2 separate regions of the Homo sapiens genome follow, and region 1 is linked to region 2. Evidence: promoter capture Hi-C in human tissues and cell types (Jung and others, 2019). All regions are on one chromosome and are shown on one strand. Each heading gives the region's core, a stretch centred on a gene start or on the middle of the fragment in contact. The rest is flanking DNA. Distances are from core to core; before and after follow the strand shown.

The links. Contacts are between HindIII fragments. The study calls those that stand out against the background at their distance.
Region 1: a fragment that was not itself captured here is called in contact with the fragment with the promoter of MYOM1 in region 2 in 2 of the 25 tissues and cell types used here (dorsolateral prefrontal cortex and mesendoderm cells).

The regions. Positions count from the first base shown.
Region 1 is chr18:3,041,222-3,048,288 of GRCh38, forward strand. No RefSeq gene overlaps it. Among named protein-coding and RNA genes, the nearest start is that of LPIN2, 32 kb to the left of the region's middle. The HindIII fragment of the contact is 7,534 bases long and covers 1,431-7,067 here.
Region 2 is chr18:3,215,078-3,221,714 of GRCh38, forward strand. MYOM1 (myomesin 1) reads right to left here and starts at 4,891. Exons shown (of 38, transcript NM_003803.4): 1 at 4,726-4,891; 2 at 1-174. The coding sequence starts at 146. RefSeq lists a silencer at 2,894-3,188. The HindIII fragment of the contact is 14,410 bases long and covers 1-6,053 here.

The DNA.
Region 1 (7,067 bases), core at 3,948-6,447, 170 kb before region 2:
AGGCCACAGAGTGAGACCCCGTCTCCAAAAATAATAATAATAATCCTGACAATCATATTTTTATTAAAATGAGTAAGTGGATTAGATGGGGAGAAAAGGTGCTCTTTCTTGATAACTGGCAGACCGAGGTGACCTCTATGTCAGGAGACGATTGTGGCATTGTCCTCACCACTGTTCGCCAGCCATCTTTGTCTCTGCAGGGGCGGCACAGCTGGAATTCTGAAAGAACCTGCTCCTCTAAAACATAGATCCCAGATCTGAGCTTTAAGGGCCTTTGTTAAAATAAAATGTGTTTTTCCAAAGGGATTAGCATTTTACACTAGTAATCCTCTCACTCAGCTTGGAGGGCACAGAGGAAATGCAGCACAAACATGAACATCTTGAGGAGGCTCGTTCTTGGGATGGGTGGGTTGTCATGGGAGGCATATCTAGAACAGGTATCAGAACCCGAGGGGCTGGAGATTTGATCAACCAGGAACCAGTATCAGGTGAGTAGGCTCCAGGCAGAATGCACAAAAGGAAAGTGTGGAGTACAAACAAGAAGAATGAAGCTGGACCAACTGCTCTGGGGCTCACTTATTAGTTACATATATTGGGAGCTGTTTCTGTGGGAGAAATGGATCCTAACATTCCCCAGCTGTCCCGCCACCTCCGTCAAACCTCAGGAAAGCAGCGTAAAACCTGCTTTGTAGAAAGAAAATTTCTTCCATAAAGTGAGGCATCCCGTTGCTTTAATTATCCCAATACTCAGAGTGAAAATATGATCTTATATGTTTATTTGCCTAAAACTTAACTCCAGTTGTCACAACAAAGCAAAGTGAAGGAGGAAGTAAGACCCAAAAACATATTTTATAGACAGCTGCCATCTGTCTTGATGAAACTATTAAAGCCTCCTCAAGAACAAGCCTCTTGTCCTGATTCTTATCTTCTGTTTTATCCTCTCCCACTTTTCATCTGTCCCTCGGCTCAAATGACAGTGATTACAGCCATAGTAGTAAACTCTGAGGAGAAAGAGACTAATGGGAATTTCCTTTTTCCAAGGCAGCACAATAGAGGAAATCCTTAGGTTTTTTGGGGAGCAGCTGTCATTTCCACCAGCCAACCTAGTCAAGGACATGTGTTCTCTGAATACTCTAGCAGCAGGTCACAGATTCATTGAACAAAGGTGGGTTCCCACCTGTGGGCTCCTGGGCTGTGGGAAAGAAAATAACAATGGTGGAAGTGTTGAGAGACTTGGTTTCATTCTTCCCTCCCTTACATATCACTTGACCCTGATGGCTTGATTGACTTCACCTCCCTTAACATTAGTTTGCTTATCTATAAAATGAGGTCAGTAACCTGAGCACAAACTGCCTCACTGGGGTGACGTATTACTTGACGCACATGAAAGTACTTAGAAACATATTTCATACACAAAATAGTTTCAGTAAATTTTGTAAGGCAACCCCAGTAAGAAAATCCCACAAATAGGAATTCCTGATTTTGTATACTGCAGTGATTTCTGTATTCCAGAGGGGAACAGAGGCCTTTCTTATTTCTTTTTTTTTGAGATGGAGTCTCGCTCTGTCGCCCAGGCTGGAGTGCAGTGGTGCGATCTCGGCTCACTGCAAGCTCCGCCTCCCGGGTTCACACCATTCTCCTGCCTCAGCCTCCCGAGTAGCTGGGACCACAGGCGCCCACCACCACGCCCGGCTAATTTTTTTGTATTTTTAGTAGAGACGGGGTTTCACCGTGTTAGCCAGGATGGTCTCGATCTCCTGACCTTGTGATCCGCCCGCCTCGGCCTCCCAAAGTGCTGGGATTACACGTGTGAGCCACTACGTCTGGCCTCTCATTTCGATAATATGGTTTTTTTGCCCTTTGGAAAATTACCCTTGGAAAAATGAGGCAGGAAGCACAGGGAGGGGGAAAGCCCCTTCCTGAAGGCCTACTATGTGCCACGTGCTCTCCTAGGCACTGTTAAAAATGAATAAACCCCTTTAATCCTGGCAAAATCTCCATGTGGGAGACAGTGTAGTGTCCTTATCCCCACTTTAGAGGAGGACTTGTGGGGAGGGGGTCTAACTTTCCCACAGTGAGAAAGGGGTGGAGGTGAAGCCAATCTGCCTAACCCCAGGATTCTGCCGCTGGACTGTGCTTAACTTGCTTGCTGATCTACTGGGGAAAGGTGATAGCAGAGTTACCAGCGGAGCAAAAGTTACACACAAAGCACCTATTTATTTTTCCCCAAGTGGCCTTTAATTAGTCATGCTTTTAGCACAAGATAACCTTTGATTGTGCGTAGCAAGGTTCATTTTGAATAGGTTCAGCTTAATAACGTCAATACTGCTCCACCTTCATTGAAATATTTAACAAAATATAATCTGAGGCTGGGTGCGGTGGCTCATACCTGAAACCCTAGCCCTTTGGGAGGCCAATGTGGGAGGATCACTTGGGCCCAGGAGTTCAAGACCAGCCTGGGCAACATAGTGGGATCCCTGTCTCTATAAAAAAATTTTAAAAATTAGCTGGTGTGGGCCTACATTCCTGTAGTCCCAGCTACTTGGGAGGCTGAGGTGGGAGAATCATTTGAGCCCAGGAGGTCAAGGCTGCAGTGAGCCATGTTTTCTCCATTGCACTTTAGCCTGGGCAACAGAGAAAGACACTGTCTCAGAAAAAATGAAAAGATATAATCTGATGTGAGAAATCCTATAGGTGACCTTCTGTTAACAGTTGGGAGCTGTGGGTTCAGATTTTTGGTCCTGCCTCATGTCTACTCTATACATTATTTTCTATGCTTATTTTCGTCATTGGCAAGAGCTGGCATTCTTAGGAAATAAAAAGAAGTTATGGCACTATTCACCCTTCTTGGAGAGTTTTTAAATACAGTCAACCCTCCATATCTGTGGGTTCCACATCGGAGGATTCAACCAACCTCGGATTGAAAATATGCAGAAAAAAATATGGATAGTTGCATCCGTACCGAAAAGGTACAGGCTTTTTTCTTGTCATTATTCCTTCAACAATATAATATAACAACAATTTACACAGCATTTACATTGCATAAGGAATTATAAGTAATCTAGAGAGGATTTAAAATATACAGAAGCACGGCTCACGCCTGTAATCCCAGCAATTTGGGAGGCCGAGGCAGGTGGATCACCTGAGGTCAGGAGTTTGAGATCAGCTTGGCCAACATGGTGAAACCCCATCTCTACTAAAAATACAAAAATTCGCTGGGTGTGGTGTTGCACACCTGTAATCCCAGCTACTTGGGAGGCTGTGGCAGGAGAGTCACTTGAAACTGGGAGGCGGAGGTTGCAGTGAGCCAAGATCGAGCCACTGCACTCCAGCCTGGACAACAGAGTAAGACTCTGTCTCAAAAATAAATTAATTAAATCAATCAATAAATAATATATACGGAAGGATGTGCATAGGTTATCTGAAAATACTATGCCCTTTTATATAAGGGACTTGACCATCTGTAGATTTTGGTATCTTTGGGGCAGTCTTGGAAACAATTCCCTGTGGATATGGAGGGACGACTGTATATCTATATCGCAGAGGCAATGGCTTCTGTCCTGCCTTCCCTTACACGGCTGCCATAGCTCTAGTAACTTCCCCTAGATTTTCTCATGCCCCCAAACTAGCCTCTTAGAAAGACTTCATTGTGGGAAAATAGTCAGTGAATTCCAGAATTATAGATTTAAATGGTTTGAGGATAAGCAACAAGTCTGGTCTAGTTTCTGCTTGCTGAAAAGGGTAAACTGTGCAGATGGGCCACCCACAGATGGCCCAGATTTGGATTCAGCAGGGAGAAGTATTTACTCAAGATCGTCTGAGCAAGAACTGTATCTGGTGGAATGTAGCCAAGACGTAGGAAAGCTGCACTGAGCACCCTGAGAGGGTGCCCGGAGTAGGCAGGGGATCCATCTGTGAGGACACGGTGGGAAATGCCATGCCAGATTAGGCTGGGCAGCCCCCATGCTGAATACTCTTAGGGGTGCTTATCTCAAGGCCAGCTGAGGGTGGAAGGAATGGAGGCTTGCAGGGGACTGTACTGAGGCTGCGCAGGTAGTTGTAAAATGAACAAGATAGATTGCATAGTGAAATCAAGGGAGGGTGGCAGGAAACAAAAGCAGCAAAAGCAGCAATTCCTATATGCAGCAGGCTTTACGCTCACCATTCATCAACAATCAAGCAAACAAAAACGCCCCCAAATACCAATCACGGCACGGTTTGCATTAAGTTCTGTGAGTGTGCATTGAGTGTTTACCCTGTGCAAGACACTGTGCTAGATGCAAAAACAAGTTTAAAAAATCTAATAAAGTAAGCAAATAAAGGGCAGAAAGGCTAACAGCCCCACTGCGGGCAACAAGCCAAGAGGAAGTTTCTGTGCATAGCATTCCCTCAACTGACCTGACTGCCTGGGCCAGAGATGCCCTGTCTTTGTCCTGCGTCTGTCTGGGTTACTCAGTAGGCACTTTCTTCGTGTTTTGCATCTTATACTCAGCTCATTAGTGTATAATAAAATACTTACCGAGAAGCTCCTATGTGACAGGGAGTTGGAAGATATAATGAGGTAAGTGTGTATTGAAACATATCTAGGCATAGAAAAAGTACAGTAAGTCTGGGCATGGTGGCTCATGCTTGTAATCCCAGCACTTTGTAAAGCCTAGGCGGACGGATCTTTTGAGGTCAGGAGCTCAAGACCAGCGTGGCCAACATGGTGAAACCCTGTCTCTACTAAAAACACAAAAATTAGCCGGGCGTGGTGGTGCGTGCCTGTAATCCCAGCTACTCGGGAGGCTGAGGCAGGAGAATTGCTTGAACCCAGGAGGCAGAGGGTGCAGTGAGCCAAGATTGCACCACTAAACTCCAGCCTGGGTGACAGAGTGAGACTCAGTCTCAATTAACAACAACAACAACAAAAAGATACAGTAAAAAATACGCTATTATAATTTTACGGGACTGCTGTCATATATGTGGTCCATTGTTGACCAAAAGGTCATTATGCAGCACACGACTGTATTTTGTTGTGGATCTGCATCAGTACAGGATGTTTCAGGTCCTGGGCCCTCCCTTTCTACCTTGATCACAGACTACAGGGATGGTCTCAAGATTAGCAGGAGGAAGGTTTGTTTGTCTCATAGACTGTCCAGTCTGAAGAATGTGTGAGGCCTAGGCCCACCAGGGGCCCACAGCTGCTCTGGTGCAGGAGGGCCCGGGACAATGCCTGGTGTCTGCAGGAGGAGGGCAGAGGGGCAGAAAAGGCCCCTGGAAACATAAAGGAAGAAAAGTGGGAGGGAGACCAGAAGTCGATGGAACTTATAGTAAGCATCTGAATGGAAAGAGTTCTGTGTGATCTGTGTGAGTGGCAGGGGGGTTGGATGTGAAAATTAAGACTCATTTCTGTCCTCTCTAGACATAGGGTGTGTTTAAGCTGGGTTACCACTAAGACTGTGTGTTCTCTCAGGTGATTAAGTGATACCCACACAGCCTCCAGATACTGCCAAGCAAAACGTATGGGTAACATGCTTATTTTGCTCCATTGAGACAATTGAGCTTCTCATGTGTGGGGTCCATGTTTCATTCATGATTTCACCCTATACATGTTACCTAGTTTATAGTTCATAGAGATGCTAAATAGATGTTTGTTATTCTTGTTGTATTAGTGTGAGGAACCCACAAGACCTACCTTACAAACTGAATAGAAAATGCCCACAAATAAAGAATAATGTTATTCTAACATGTAAGTCTAGTGCTCATTATTAATGAAATTGGAGTTCAATGAAATACCCACATGGCTTAGAAGAAATAGTTAAAGATGACTCTGTGGAACAGATAAGCAGCAGAGAATAATCAGAATTTGGCTAGGCAACATGGAGGAAAAAGTGATTCCAGGGGCTGGAAAATCATGAGCCAAGTTTATTAAGCATGTTCGTGAGCCAAGGTCACAAAGTTTTGTGTAGAGGAATAACAAAAAATATATTCTACTCACGTCTGCAATCCCAGCACTTTGGGAGGTTGAGATGGGAAGCTCGCTTGAACCCAGAAGTTCAAGATCCACCCTGGCAACATGGAAAGACCCCATCTCTACAAAAAAATTATTTTAATTAATTAATTTATTTATTTTTAGTATTTATTTATTTATTTTGAGACGAAGTTTTGCTCTTGTTGCCCAGGCTGGAGTGCAATGGCGCAATCTCAGCTCACCGCAACCTTCGCCTCCCTGGTTCAAGCGATTCTCCTGCCTCAGCCTCCTGAGTAGCTGGGATTACAGGCATGCGCCACCACACCCAGATAATTTTGTATTTTTAGTAGAGACGGGGTTTCTCCATGTTGATCAGGCTGGTCTTGAACTCCCGACCTGAGGTGATCCGCCCATCTCGGCCTCCCAAAGTGCTGAGATTATAGGCATGAGCCACCGCGCTCAGCCCAATTAATTTATTTTTATATAGACGGGGTCTTGCTTTGTTGCCCAGGCTGGTCTCAAACTCCTGTCTTCCAGTGATCCTCCTGCCTTGGCCTCCCAAAGTGTTGAGATTACAGGCATGAGCCACCGTGCTCAACCCAAAACATTTAAACAGTAGGCAGCTGGGTGATGCTTACCTGTAGTCCCAGCTATTCGGAGGCTGAGGTAGGAGCATTGCTTGAGTTCCGGAGTTGAAGGCTACAATGAGCCATCGTGGTGCCACTGCACTGCAGCCTGGGCAACAAACTGAGTCTCTGTCTTTAAAAAAAGTACATCTAGAAGACTGGTCTATTGTGTTCACCTGGATGGAAAGATGGTTTTCTTTCCTGTCATAACCTAGGGTCTGGGCTATTGTGGGAGCCTGGTTTGTGTTTGTTGAGAGAATGAATGAATATATGATTGTCTTATTGAATAATAAATGTATCACCCGTCCTCTTTCATTCCAAAGAACAAGTGACATGGGTCTCTCTCTTCTGCCCCTCTGTCTTTCCTTTTTAAATCTTCTCTGCTTTTCCATCTTTGGATTCATTGCCCTCCGTCCTCTCCCTCCCGTCCCTCTTGCTCTGTTTGGAGTCTAAAGTAGAAGCATAGGAAGTGGGCTAGAAGGCAGCAC
Region 2 (6,637 bases), core at 3,641-6,140:
CGGCTGCTGTAGGCCGTGGAGCCCTGGGTGTAGACGGCGGAGCGTTTCTTCTCCCGCTGGTAGTGACTCACGGTGCTGCGCACGTCCTTGTTGCGGTAGCTGAGATCATAGTGCTGGTGGCACCTCTGATAAAAAGGCAAAGACATCCTGTGCCCCTTGAAGGAACCGGGCCACCTGAAGGAAAACAACACTTTTTGAGTGACTTATTAAGGAACAAATTCCATAGACCAAGTCATCTAAATCAATGTGTAAAAATCAATACTCTTGGCTGGGTGCGGTGGTTCATGCTTGAAATCCCAACGAGGATCTCTCGAGGCCGGGAGCTCAAAATCAACCTGGCCAACACAGTGAGACCCTATCTCTACAAAAAGAAAAAATTAGCCGGGTGTGGTGTGTGTGTCTGTAGTCCCAGCTACTCCGGAGGCTGAGGCAGGAGGATTGCTTGAGCCCAAGACTTCGAGGCTGCAGGGAGCTATGATTGACCATTGCACTCAGCTTGGGTGACAGAGCAAGACACTGTCTAAAAACAAAATAAAATAAAAATTAATATTCTTATCTTTTCCGAAGAGTAAACCAAAAAGGGTATGAAGTTTAACATAACTGGATATTCAAAAAACTCTCCACTTCATAGCCCAGATATGCCCCTCCTGTCATTGTACCTTTTTTTAAAAAAAATTGTATCTAGGAGGTTTTCCTAGAAAAACAAAGTTTTTCTACCCTGGCTATTGTGCTCTTTCCTCAGACTCTTCATAATACATATTTCTAATTTTCTGCCATTTCATTCTTCATTTGGGACTTCATTTGGGAGAATGTGGAAGGATAGAGAGTCATGTGGTGTTCATTCAACAAATAATTAGCAGCACCTACTGTGTGCCTGACGCCATCCAGCCCATGAAATCCAGTAGTGAGGCCGGGCACAGTGGGTCACGCCTGTAATCCCAGCACTTTGGGAGGCCGAGGCAGGCGGATCACTTGAGGTCAGGAGTTCAAGACCAGCCCGGCCAACATGGCGAAACCCCATCTCTACTAAAAATACAAAAATTAGCCTGGCATGGTGGTGGGCACCTGTAGTCCCAGCTACTCCGGTGGCTGAGGCAGGAGAATCACTTGAACTCAGAGGCGGAGTTTGCAGTGAGCCGAGGTTGCGCCACTGCACTCCATACTGGGCAACAGAGAAAGACTCTGTCTCACAATGAAACAAAACAAAAAAGAAATACAGTGGTAAACAAAACAGACAAAATGCCTGCTCTAATTACCTTGTACAGAACTGTACAGTCTACTGCAGGAGAAAGACAATAGAGAAAACAAGTAAGTCAAGTATGAGATAGGTTAATGTGCCAAGAACCAGAGAAAAACAAAGCAGGTAAGAGGGATGGATGCAATTTTCAACAGCCTCAGCAGGGATGGCTTCTCTAGACAGTAACATCTGAGCATGAGACTTTCTGGGGAAGAGTATTCCAGAAGGAAGACCAGAGCAAAGGCACTGAGGAATGAACATGACTATTGTGCTCCAGGAACCACTGATTGGCAGGGGTTCTGGGATGGGAGAGGTATAGGAGATGATGTCAAAGAGGTGAGCTATGTGCCTGGTGGAAGGGCCAGTAGTGTAGGGTCCTGTAGGTAGCAGTAAGGACTTCAGCTAATACTGTGAAAGGGCTGAGAGGCCATTGGAAGACTCTGAGCTGAGACTCATTCTCGCCGATGTCTGAAGATGGACTGTGGAGGGATGAGAGTGAAAGCCAGAAGACCTATGAAAGGGCTGAGTTGTATCCTCTCAAAATTCCTGTGTTGAAGCCCTAACCTCCAGTACCTCAACATGTGACCATATTTGGAGATAGGGTCCTTAAAGAGGAAGTTGAGTTAAAATTAGGCCATTAGGATGGGCCGTAATTCTATATGATGGTGTCTCTATAGGAAAAGAAAACCAAGATCCAAATATGTATATAACAGAGGGAAGGCCACGTGGAGACACAGGGAGAAGACAGCCATCCATGAGCCGAGAAGAGACCTGAGAAGAAACCACCCAGCTGACACCTTGATCTTGGACTTCCAGCCTCCAGAGTTGTAAGGTAATAAGTTTCTGTTGTTTAAGCCACCCAGTCCATGGCGCTTAGCTATGATAGCCCGGGCAAAAGAATACAAAGTCCACTGCAATGGTCCAGGCTAGAGGTGACAGGGGTAGCAGCGAAAGTGTGAGAGGTGGTCAAGCTCTGCACAGCTTTTGAAGTTAGAACCAATGGCATTTGCTGAAAGTTCTGAATTAGGATGTGAAAGAAAGAGATGACTCCAAGGTTTTTGCCTGAGCAATTGAAAGACAAGTTGCTATTAACTGAGATGGGGAGGAATGTGGGAAAGTATCAGTTTGGGGTGGAAGAACAGGAGATTGGTTTCAATGCTCTACATCTGAGATGCCTGTTAGACCTCCCAGAGGAGACATTTTAAGTGGGAAGCTGGATACATGACTCTGGAGTGCAGGAGAGAGGTCCAGGATGCAGATATACATTTGGGAGTCAACAGCATATAGGTGGTATCGAAAGCCAAGAAAATAGGTGAGAACCATTGTACACGGAAAAGAAAGTCCTAAAAGAAAACAGATGAGGACCATTATACACAGAAAAGGAAATTACAGGCATGGTGGCTCATGCTTGTAATTCCAGCACTTTGAGAGGCCAAGGCAGGAGGATTTCCTGAGCCCAGGAGTTTGAGACCAGCCTGGGCAACGTGGTGAGACCTTGTCTCTATTATAAAAATTTAAGATAAAATAAAATAAGTAAAATAAAGTCCTAGAACTGAACCCTGGAGTATGCTAATCTTATATATAAGCTCTCTCAAATCTCACAAACATTTCAAGCAAAGGTATAGTCTCAAACCAGAAAACAAAACAAAACAAACAAAAAAACCTGTTTGCTCTATAAGGAACATGCAGGCTTCTAGTCTCCCTACTTAAAGAGGTAAGAGAGTCGATTCCCAGGGTGACAGCTGGCATTGTGAACTTGAGCTAGCAGTTCTACTAAAAGTCAAAGGTATGTTTGTTTAGCATAGGGTGGGGAGATGTCACATGGCCTTAGCATTCTTGAATAGTTTATCCACTGAAGCAGGCCTATCAGCCACGTTGACAACCCTGGATGAAGTAATAGTTTTATAAAAGCTCCACCCCCAAGTGTTTTAATGCTGTAGAATTAGTTTTAAAGTGATCTGTTTTCTCCAAATGTCATTTTTAAAAAAATTCAAAATGAAGAATGAATCCTTCTAAACTCAGCATATTCTTTGTCAAGTTTAAAACTACTTTTTATTTAAACTATTTTAAAAGTCAGCATGTATTCCCCAGAGAAGAAAACTGAGCAAACTTCACTCCAGAAATATTTATCTTAGGGTTCATGGAAGATATCAGTCTACAGGGCATTTCCTAAGGGAAAAAAATAGCTACTAGCAAGCAACTTTGCTTCAACCCTTAAATAGATGGCTATTTTCTGTTACAAAATATGGAGGATAATTACCATGTATAATTAATAACTACTAGATGAATTTTGATAAAACAAAGGGGTTAGAAAATGTTAATACAGAATTACGTTAGGCAGTTATAAAGATATTAGAGAAGTTTCTGTTATGATACTACATTGTAACATGGCACATGTTATTTGAATGATTTTTCAAATAAATAATAAAGAAACTTGTTATGTTATAAACTAAATTCATTCCCCAGATGACTTGAAATGCTGTTATTTTCACAAAATAAAATCTTTAAATATCTTGCCCCAATACTATTTTTTACTCTCTTTATTTCTATTTCTCCCAAATACATTTATTTTTAATAATACTTACTATTCCTCTCACATAGATAGTAAGTTACAAGTAAACAGGGTTTGACTTGAAGCCCACATTGCTGATTGTCACAGCCCTGACCTCTGGAACAAAGGTACAACCACCTCCTCTTCATCAAGTAAGCCCTTGAAGTTAACTAAAGCCAGGATTAGCTCCAACACATGACGGCTGGAGTACGTTGGGAGGAAAGATGGTTTTAGTGTCTTTTGTTTCTTTAAGACCTAAATTTTCTTTCTGAAAATAATTTGAGAATTTAGGAAGAAATACAAATTCCATAGCTGTAATTTATGATACTTTTGTGCAGGCATTAGAGGGCAGAAGCTGATGAAAACGATTCCCAGAAAAATCACTATGTGGGGCTCTATGTTGCCTCTGAAATATTACTTAACCATTTGAGGCCATATCATTGTGCGCGCTCACATTTATCCACATTGCATCGTCACAGCAAGATCCCTGAATTATAAACTAGTGACTTCAGAGTTAATTTTCCTTCTTTCGGTCTAATTTGTAACCAGGGAGCATTGTATGGCACATGCAGGATTGAAAATGCAGGGCCTCCTGTCTCTCATCCATTTCAGATTTCAACCAAACCGTACTTGGAAATAGCATTAAACACACGCTTACAGTTCAATCCGAGGCAGATATGACCTCCTTACAGTTCCAGGAACAGCAGCTTAATTTCAGAAGAATACAGTGATGTGAGAGAAGAGCTGTGCCAGCCCGACTGGCACCCGGCTGTTCTGGTTTCCCTCCCTGGAGCTTCACTTTCCTATTTCTCTGTTATTCTGACATCTCTTTGAGAAAACTGCTGAGTTCAGAAGACAGAAAGAAAGCACTTACACTGCACTGCTGCTAAGCTCATAAGCTATCAAGTGCATTCTTCTGCCTCAGTGTCACACTTACCAGTTTCCAAAGGAGTAATGGTGGTGGAAATGTTCCGATGAGGCCGAGGAGCTGGATGAGAGAATGAAGACTCCACCTAGGTTGAATCCAAGACAATGTTAAGAGGCAGGGCTAAAGACAGGACCCTGGGGGCCAGTTCAAAAATAATGCATGTGGTCAGGCAGTCGAATGTCAGGCCACACAACCAGCCTTTTATGGCCAAGAAGGCAGATAAATATAGCAGCAGATGGGGAGGGTAGTTCCAAACCAGGAGGAGGAGAGGGGCATGGGCAGGTAGCAGCCTTAGTAATATAATTGCATAATGCCGGTCAATGGGTCTGGCCCGATTAAACCAAATATAGGGTTTTTATTTGGCAACAAGAGTTATTTTCAATGTCACTTTATCAGTAGATAATTTAAAAGTGTAATGGAAAGAGTGGTTTGTGTTAACAGCTAAAAATAGGTGTAGTAATATGATTCTCAAAATGGACTTCGTGGAATTTTAATGCCAAGATATGATTCTGAGTGTGCTGTTAACAACACACGTACGGTACATTTAAAAGATACAATGTGAAAAAAGAACTTGAAGCTAACTAAAGGCAAAACAAGGAAGAAATGGGTTACACGTGGTGGCGATTTTTGCCTGACATCACGGTCACTATTTCTCTCACTTCAGGAAAATTTACAAGGTTAAGTCTTAGCTTCAAGCCTGAATATGTGATTTCCTGTTCATTAACTAAAGCCTTTTGAGACGCAACTCAGTGTTTTATCTTTCCTAACTCAGAGTAGGGTCAGTCCATCTAATAAGAGATTCTCTTTCTTTGTTCTTTAAATGGTGTGACCAATTAAGAGGAGGTGTAACCCGGTTGTGAGAGCCTGTGTTGTGGATTCAGACCAGATCTAGATCCCACTATATTGATAGCACTTAGTAGCCATGTAATCTCCAGCAATTTATTTCTCCTTCCTAAGCTTCAGGTTTTTTGTCTATAAAATGGGGATAATCATATCCAAATTATAGGATTGCTGTGGTGATTAAATGTGATACTGCAGACAGAGCACTTGACCTAGTGACAGTCACATAATATAGACTCAGTAAATATCAGCTGTTATTACTGATACCAATAATATAAAAGCTCATTGTTAGATTACATGTATGCAGCAGGTTGGTATTTTGATCTACTGGCCTTATGTTCTGACAGTGATATTACATCAACTGAATAAAGGTCACCTGTGTCTATCAAAATTGTTTTTCTTTCTGAGACAGGGTCTCACTCTGTTGCCCAGGCTGGAGTGCAGTGGTGCAGTCTTGGCTCACTGCAACCTCTGCCTCCCAGGCTCAAGCAATCCTCCCACCTCAGCCTCCCGAGTAGCTACAGGCGCATGCCATCACACTCGGCTAATTTTTTTTTTTAACTCTTGGTAGAAATGGAGTTTCACCATGTTGCCCAGGCTGGTCTCAAACTCCTGGACTCGAGTAATCCACCTGCCTCAGTCTCACAAAGTGCTGGAATTACAGGCGTGAGCCACTGCACCCAGTCTCTATCAAGATATTGAACAGACTCAATATTATAGTATACTTCATCATGACTTTCTTGATGATAACTACAGTTAACACTGTTGAGGACCTATCCAGTGCCAGACACTGGGATAGGCAGTTTATATACATGATCCCACTGACTTATCATACCTTGCAAGGTACAGCTTCATTACCCCGTTGAGGAAAGCAAAGCTTCCAGAAGGGAAGGCATTTGCCAAAGATCACACAGCGGGTAGATGACAGAAACGCAACTTCATTCAGAGACATTTGATTCCAAAGCCCGTGTACTTGTAGTCATGTATTGCTGGCTCCTCCAGTGGCACTTTGATAGTAAGAAACTAGACATTTTGAAATGGCAATACGGGTCTTCACTTGTAATAGACGGTTAGCTTCTGA